2 separate regions of the Homo sapiens genome follow, and region 1 is linked to region 2. The links are contacts of gene promoters, found by promoter capture Hi-C in human tissues and cell types (Jung and others, 2019). All regions are on one chromosome and are shown on one strand. Each heading gives the region's core, a stretch centred on a gene start or on the middle of the fragment in contact. The rest is flanking DNA. Distances are from core to core; before and after follow the strand shown. Region 1 has its middle 3.8 kb from the start of STMN2. Region 2 holds the start of MRPS28 (mitochondrial ribosomal protein S28).

Evidence for each region. Contacts are between HindIII fragments. The study calls those that stand out against the background at their distance.
Region 1: a contact is called between a fragment that was not itself captured here and the fragment with the promoter of MRPS28 in region 2, in 1 of the 25 tissues and cell types used here (lymphoblastoid cells).

The regions. Positions count from the first base shown.
Region 1 is chr8:79,605,120-79,609,578 of GRCh38, reverse strand. No RefSeq gene overlaps it. Among named protein-coding and RNA genes, the nearest start is that of STMN2, 3.8 kb to the left of the region's middle. The HindIII fragment of the contact is 6,050 bases long and covers 1-4,459 here.
Region 2 is chr8:80,027,900-80,032,024 of GRCh38, reverse strand. MRPS28 (mitochondrial ribosomal protein S28) reads left to right here and starts at 1,766. Exons shown (of 3, transcript NM_014018.3): 1 at 1,766-1,989. The coding sequence starts at 1,777. The region is part of intron 5 of TPD52-MRPS28 (TPD52-MRPS28 readthrough); the gene reads left to right. It also overlaps a transcript of TPD52 not described here. RefSeq lists an enhancer at 1,614-2,043. The HindIII fragment of the contact is 9,025 bases long and covers 1-4,125 here.

The DNA of each region.
Region 1 (4,459 bases), core at 1,700-4,199, 420 kb after region 2:
ATAGCAGGGCACTCTCCTTGGTGCTGAAATGAATTTCTTCACCTCCTATTAACTTGTAAGACATTTTAACCTCATGGACATTTTGCTGACTGATAGGATGCTACTGGAACTGGAACAGTTTTGACCTGCTGAATCATGGGGAAAATAAAAGATGAAGTGGAGATCAATAAAATTATTTCTTGAACAGGAAGATTAGAAATTATATTTCCTATCTTTGAACAGGTCTGTGACTATGACACAGCAAGAGAGCAATATGGAAGTTGGCAGGGTCTGGAAATAAATAACCATTTTCTCTCTATATATAGGCATTTCCCACTTTAAATGTAACAGTTAATCACCTCTCACTGGAGTAGTTATCACTCATGAGGTGAAGGATCTTCAGCATGTCTGTGTGACTAATATTTTCAAAGTATTTCTCTTCTCCCCACCACACCCTTTCCCCTCAGGCTGTGTGTCATCTCTACACATTCTTCAGCTTCCTTGGAGAACAAGGGCCCTAAGTCATGGCATTAGTTTCTTTAACAACTGCAGTTGGCTGCTGAATGAAATCGATTGCACTTTTGATGACTATGAGGAAAACAAAACACTCATTCTACTGCCCTAAGGGTCACATATGTGACTCTTTTCTATTTCCGATTTTCTAGGTGTTAGCCACCTAACTTCAGTTATGAATGATTTTTAAATAATGTCAAACAGGGAAGAGAGTAGGTCAATATGATTTACCATAGAATAAAAAGATAGTAGGCAAAATTGTCAATCAGCTAAGAAAACACAAATAAATTCAAAGGGCTGTGCCATTATCAAATTGTTTTTTGTTTTCTTTTATCATTACAATATGGTATCATGCATATTCACATGGGAAAGTAAGGGTGAAATATGAACAGAAAAATTATTTCATATTCAATATGTTATTCACTTATTCATTTGTTCAGCTAATTTATTCAACAAATATTTATTTGATGATGTTTCAGGCTTTTGTGATGCCAGCCAAGCTTCTCCTTAATGTCTGAAAAATAGAAAGTGAAGGAAAATATAACACCCATCTCTTTAAGAAAATATTAATTTGGGGGAGTGAATATGATCTTGTGTATTGTGGATCACACTTTGTTGCAAAAATTTGAAAAAATAACCCAAACTGGCACTAATAATAAAAGTGCATTTGCTGTTTCGTCTAACCATATAGATAGAGTTGGCCCTAGAGGTCTGGAGGTGAGATCAGCTTTTCCTGAAGGAAATGGTTTTGATGGGAATGGGTGGACACTCAAAGAATAGGTACTACATTTGCACAGTATAAACTAAGGACAACCAGTATCTGTCGTGTGGGGATTTGGGTAGACTGAAGGGTTATCATGTATGAACTGTCTAAGCCATCATGGATATATAGTAATTTTAAGTACTATGACTATATTTAGTGTTTCCAATACATTTAAACCTTTGAAAGGTAGAGAATGAATAGTGTATATCTTTATACCCTTCCTAGTGGTTGGTTTCATGATTCACGTGGTAGACAGTTAAAAACAATTTGTGAAATAATAAATAATACAGTGTTGAAAATGATTCAAAATGGATGAATCCAGTGAGACCATATTGACACTTCTAACCTCCTTTGCTTAGCTTGTGTTGGGAGCAGGTATTAGGCTGTTTACCAGTGTTTATTTATTTATATCCTGCCCTATTCCCAAAGAACCTAAATGAGTAGAGCTCACAATAGTAGATGGCCCTTGTTAATTTTTGTTATCTTTAACAGCCAGCAGTAAGCTGGAGCTGTGGAAATCACAGACTTGCTAACAGAAATTTTAATTATTGTGGGTTATAGCCTAGTGTGTATTATCTCTGTGAGGAGGCCTGAGGTGTTGATTTCTTTCCAAACCAGAGAGAAGCAGTTGCTTTGGAGGATTAGCTGATGCCATCTAACACAGTCATATGATTTTCTGCTATTCATAATCAAGTGCCTGGGAAAGAATCCTAAAGTAATTATTAAAAGTTAGTGAGATAAGAGAAACATTGTTAAGGTCAAATTAATTGTTTTGATCTGACCTCAGGTGATTACAAAAGAAATGTGAGAGATAAAATCCATTGAATTTTTTTAGATGTTTAGAAATTTAGGATATAAAGTAGTTATAGCTGAAGATATTTAGAGATGCATCTAAAATAATCACACATGAAAAAATAGTTGACTTTTTAACATTTTGATTATTTTGCCATGTTTAAATTCTTATAGATTAATGAAAAATAAAAAGGATCATGTGTCCTTTAATAGAACTGTCTAATATGGTTTATTCAAAAGGAAAGTCATTCCAAGGAGGGAGAGTTGGTGTTCTTTATTAGCAGTGAGCTCTGTATTGCTCAGGAATTTGCCAGTGTGTTAGAGTTATTTCTGAAGTGTGGAACAAACACACTTCATTGTTTTCTTCTTAAATTAGTTATTTAAAAATAAACAATGATTAGTTAATTATTATTATTTTTTCTCTACCTAGGGTTTTCTTTATGTCCAAATGGGACTTGTATGTATTAATAATTAGTATAATTCACCCTGAAGCAAAATGACTTATTGAAATTAGTAAATCCTATTGATAGTTTTATAATTGAACTTTTCTGGAAATAAACTTGTTCTAATCATAAGAAAGGCTTGATATAAATTTAATGAGCTGAATCTTTACATTAAATTGATAATGTTGAAAACTACTCGCTATCTTGGCAGCAATTACTGTAACTAACTTTTTCCTTCTCTCCATGAGTTGATTTACAGCTTGAGTCCAGGGAGAACATTAGTTGGACACCATTGAAGCTGGGAAGTTGGTTCCCCTTGAGATTTCACTCAGCATCTTAGTTTACAAACCAAACAGTGGAGACAACACTGAAGTGCCTGGAAGAGAAATCTGGGAGAAGTGTGACTCACTCTGTTTATCCCACAAGCCTCAATTTATTTTATTTTTTAAACAGAACCCCTACTGTGAGCATTGCATTATACATACAATAACAGTTGCCTAAGAACCTTATTTTTCTAAATCAAGCTGAAAAGAGGAGGAGGAGGATTTAGGGAAGAGAAAAGCAAAAGCATTTTAGTATACTGCCTTCCTGGGAGATTTTCTCATTAGTCATTTATTAACTAATTTTCTGACCCTCTGAACTTCCCCCACCCACATCCTGCTGTGTTATCAAATGGAATTGAATTAACGGATGTAGGTAGTATTTTTAAAAATCAATTTCATCAAATATTTACTTTGACAGTAACATTAGACTTGAACTCGGCCGGGTGCGGTGGCTCACGCCTGTAATCCCAGCACTTTGGGAGGCCGAGGCGGGTGGATCACGAGGTCAGGAGATCGAGACCATCCTGGCTAACATGGTGAAACCCCGTCTCTACTAAAAAATAGAAAAAATTAGCCGGGCATAGTGGCAGGCTCCTGTAGTCCCAGCTACTCCAGAAGCTGAGGCAGGAGAATGGCTTGAACCCGGGAGGCGGAGCTTGCAGTGAGCCGAGATCATGCCACTGCACTCCAGCCTGGGCGACAGAGCGAGACTCCGTTTCCAAAAAAAAAAAAAAAAAAAAAAAAAAAGAAAAAAAACACATTAAACTTGAACTCAACTAGAGACAACAAAACCCCATTCCACTCTTTTTTTTCCTCTCGTCACATATTTAATGGATTTTTCTGTTTTTGGTTTGATCACTTCCTGAACTACACCTATCTTTTTAGTTCAGTTCAGCAAAAACAGAGCAATGTGCAGTTAGGCGGCAAATGCTGCCTTTTGAGGCAGAAAAGAAATTGCCCAGAGATTTGCAGATGTGTTATTTGGGTTTATTTAGAATGCGCAGGAAACGTCCTCTTTTGGAAAGAGGATTTCAATAGCTTGAATATTTACATCAAAATATAAAAATATTGTACTTATATTTTTGTCATAAACTATTTCAAATGGACACAAGAAAGCAAATAATGAACTTGTATTAGTCAAGTTAAGAAATTACCAAAACTTTATTGCTTCTGTTTCTTTTTCCTTTTTCATCTTTGCTGAAAACTTTAAAAGGAAGTCACGACAATCATTTAAATTCACTCTTTGTAGTTAAGTATGTATCTCTATAAAACATGAACCTTTCTTACATAAATACAATTCTGTTAAAATACTTAACAATTATAATCACATTTTCATGATTGTCTCAAGAATACTGTTGCTTTGTTTAAAACAGGACCCAAATATGGTCCGCATATTCTATTCACTTTTATGTTTCTCAAATCTCTTTTAATCTGGTACAATCCTCCCTTCATTTTTAAAATTCCCACCATTGGCTTTTTGTAGAAACTGGGTCAATTGTCCTATGAACTTTCTTACATTTTGGATGTGACTCTTTGCTTCCAATGTGGTCACTTAACTTGTTCCTGTCCTCTGTAAATGAAAGTCAATTTTGAAGCTTGATTAAATTCAGGACCATCTCACCAAAGAATAACTCAGTTTAATTAAA
Region 2 (4,125 bases), core at 517-3,016:
TGTGTCATCACGCCCAGCTAATTTTTGTATTTTTAGTAGAGACAGGGTTTCACCATGTTGGCCAGGCTGATCTCGAACTCCTGACTTCAGGTGATCTGCCCTCCTTGGCCTCCCAAAGTGCTGGGATTACAGGTGTGAGCCACCACGCCAGGGGTGTGTTTTTACGGATACTTGAGTTTTGCACTTTTCACCCATGCTGGAGTGAAGTGGCAGGAACATAGCTCACTGCAGCCTCAAACTCCTGGGCTCAAGTGATCCTCCTCCATCAGCCTCCCAAGTAGCCGGGACTACAGGCATGCACCACTGCCCCAGGCTGATTTTTCTATTTTTTGGTAGAGACTGGTTCTTGCTATGGCCCAAGCTGGTCTCGGACTCCTCATCTCAAGCAATCCTCCCTCCTCAACCTCACAAAGTGCTGGGATTACAAGTGTAAGCCACCCTGCCCAGTCAGACTGAGGGTTCTTGAAGACCACTGGCCATGCTCTTTACAATTTACCACACTTTCTCCTGAAAAAAAGTGGAAGTAGCACTATCCGTAGAAAATAATGTTCTAGGCAAGAGTCCATTAATAGTCTCGGGAGATAAACAGTTTTAACTGCCAAGAGGGAGAACTCACCTGGAGAATTTAATGAATTTGTAAGGACTACCATACAGTTAGCTAGTAATAATTTTATGTGATTCATACAATTGTGCACCATTCTGAGATCAGTGTACTTCGTGTTCTTAACACTATCTGTACCATTAGAGAGCATCAGAAAAGCTTAAAACCCATAGTCAAGGCATTCTTAAAATAGGGTCTGTGATCATAAAAATTCTTTCTCTCGAAGTACTTGCAAATGAACTGGAAAGGTGTGTGCCCCCAAAATAAAACTAACTGTGGATTAATATTAAACTGCTGGGTCAAAGATAGACGGACAACTAATTAATAAACACTTAAGAATGATGTTAGGCTGTTTTGAACAGGGTGGGTAAATTTTGGGAATTAACACTGCAGGAGAAAAGGGAAAGAAAATCCAGAGTGAGGGTGGGGGCCTACGGCGGTGCAATACTTAGGGACATTCCAAAACTTCTGAACTCCTAAGTTAGATAATAGGTATCTAGAGGTGTCAAAACATTTCAGAAAAACTATTTTTGTGGCGTGAGTGGACTGGCTGCAGAAGTGGCAAAGGACAAACTTGGATGCAGGGTTTGGCAAATGTTGGGTGAGCCCTAATCTGTGCCTGGTGCTAGGGACCCTACAGCAAAGTTCCTCTTTTCAAAGTTTAAAAAGTTGGGAGTAGACACTAAATATTATTAAATATTTAATATTAATATGTGGCATATTAGAAAGTGCTACATGGTACTAAGAAAAACAGGTGCCAGAGAGTCTGCATTTGGGCTTCCACTTCTAAATAGGGTAATCAAGGAGACCCTCATATTTGAGTGAAGACCCCAAACTCGAGTGCTGGCGGCCATGTAGGGGGGACGGCAGGGCGGGAGAACGAGCGTCGCGTTAGCAGAATTTACAGTACAATGGGGTCCAACGGATGCCCAGGAAGGCGAAATTCCTGCAAGTTAAACGCACTTCTAACGCAAAACTTAACCAGGCCCCTTTCCAACTATTTAGCCCACCAATTTTAGCTTAAGTCTCTTCTTCCCCACGCCACTCCCAGATGAAAGGAAGACACGCCTCGTTGGCCTCCAGAGCTCTGCGTCCGGGGGGCGGACCTCTCATAGCTCCGCCCCGTGACCCGCGCGCTTGCGGAGGGGAGGTCAAAGGTCAGAGGTAAAGAAGTCATGGCGGCGCTGTGTCGGACCCGTGCTGTGGCTGCCGAGAGCCATTTTCTGCGAGTGTTTCTCTTCTTCAGGCCCTTTCGGGGTGTAGGCACTGAGAGTGGATCCGAAAGTGGTAGTTCCAATGCCAAGGAGCCTAAGACGCGCGCAGGCGGTTTCGCGAGCGCGTTGGAGCGGCACTCGGAGCTTCTACAGAAGGTGGAGCCCCTACAGAAGGTGGAGCCCGGGCGGGTGAGAGGGAGTCGCGGGAATTACGCCAACGACGCGGTGGGCGGGGTCGGGAATAGGGGCGGAGCCTGGCTTAGGAAGGGGAGCTGAGGTCCGGGGCCCAGTTTTCCGGAGTTGCGGTGCGTTGTGGCTCAGCCCTCGGCCCCTAGAATCTGTGCTTGGTGTTTTTCTTCCTTTCGTTGTCCTTTTGTGTGGCATTTGCGTACTGGGCCGGGTCTGTCCACACTGCGCTTGTTTTCCTGGGATTGAATGCTGGTGGGAAGGTAACCAGCGGGGAGCGCTGCTGGGGAGGCGATCTAGGGCGATTCCTGGGACGCTAAGGAGAATGGGACTCACACGGAGAGGCAGGGCTCTGCTGGGTCTTGTTCTGAACAGTAGCTCTAGCATGGAGCTTGCTGTCTGGAGTAGAAGGCCCTTCATAAACATTTGTTAATTTAATGACTGGGTGATGAATCACTTTCTGAACTTGGGCAAGTGATTTAACTTGTCAGCGCTTCACCTCTCTTTTGTAAATGTCTTCTTTTTTTAAAAAGTAAAGTAAAATCTCCGTTTGTCTCAGCCAGTACTTTTGTAAAATACCATAAATTTATAGATAAATGAAATGGAAGAAATAAAATTACAAGCCTAAGTTTTTAATAATTAAACTCAGCAGACATGAAATTGAATTATATACAAATAAACTCTCAATTTCTGTATTTTTCTTCCTAGGGAGTAGTACCAAACAGTTCACAAGACTGGCAGTGTCCTGGGTTATAGGGTCATTTTAGTAGCAATTACTGATGTCAAAATTTTTCTGAAATCCAAGGACTAGAAGAAGCCTGGTATATTAGTTTATTATTTTCTGTTGTAACAAATTACTACAAATTTAGTGGCGTAAAACACAGGAAATGTGTTGTTGTTAGGGTTGTGAGAAGTCAGACGGGATCTCACTGGTCTAAAATCAAGGTGTTGGTGAAGTTGTGTTCTTTTCCGTAGCTTCTAGGAGAATCTCTTCCTGGCCTGTCTTTTCTGCCTCTGTTTTCTACTTTTTTGTTTTTTGGATTTTTTTGTTTGTTTTGTTGTTTTTTGAGACAGGGTCTCGCTCTGTCACCCACGCTGGAGTGTGGTGGCATGATCTCAGTTCACTGCTAAACCCCCTGGGCTCAAGTGATCCTCCTGCTTCATAGCTGGGACCGCAGGTGTGCACCACCACTCTGGGCTAATTGTTTTTTCTGTTTTTTTTTGTAGAGATGGGGTTTTGCCATGTTGCCCAGGCTGGTCTTGAACTCCTGGGTTCAAGTGATCCTCCTGCGTTGGCCTCCCAAAGTGCTGGGATTACAGATGACAGATGTGAGCCACCTGGCCTGGCTGACCCCGCCCGGCCCCGCCCCCCCCGCCCGTCTTCTGCTTTTGAGATCCCTGTGATTACATTGGCCTCCCTAGATAATCTATTTTAAGATCAGCTGATTAGCAATCTTAATTCCACCTGCAAAGTTAATTCTCCTTTGCCACGGAAGGTAACATATTCACAAATTCTAGAGATTAGGATGTGGATGTCTTTGTAGGGGGAGGGGGCATTATTCTTTCTACCATATATGGAGAAGTCATAAAATACTAGCAGAATAGCGATGATTGACCTGAAGCCACCTAAGGGATGGATTTTAGATCCATCCTTAAGGTAAGGCCATAAGAGTTAAGTGCAGTAAGGTTGGAAACATAGAGTTCAGTGCTCCCTTCCAAATATATGTATAGGAAAGGAGTTTTTCTATTTCTTACCTAATATTTCTCACTCACGCTTCGCTCCCATTCATACCACATTCTAAGCCCCTTCGGAAACCCCCCAAAATAATTCTCAATTGCTGAGTTAACTGTGGTAAGAGTGAAAATTGTAGCATCACATGTATAGTAAGTTAAGTGTTTGAAACTAAAAATGTACTGTTTATTTAATGAAGGAAACAACCAAGGTGTTTTAGAGTCCCCAGAATTCCCTTTCCTTTCCTTTTCTCTTTCCTTTCCTTTCCAAGGCAGTTCTAATTGGGCTGTTCAGTTTTTCCAGGAGGAGGCTGGGGTGTTTCCTGGCAGTCCCAGCACATCCGTTAGATTTTCTCAGTCCAGCTCAGGCTCAGCAGCATCTCTGCACCCTGC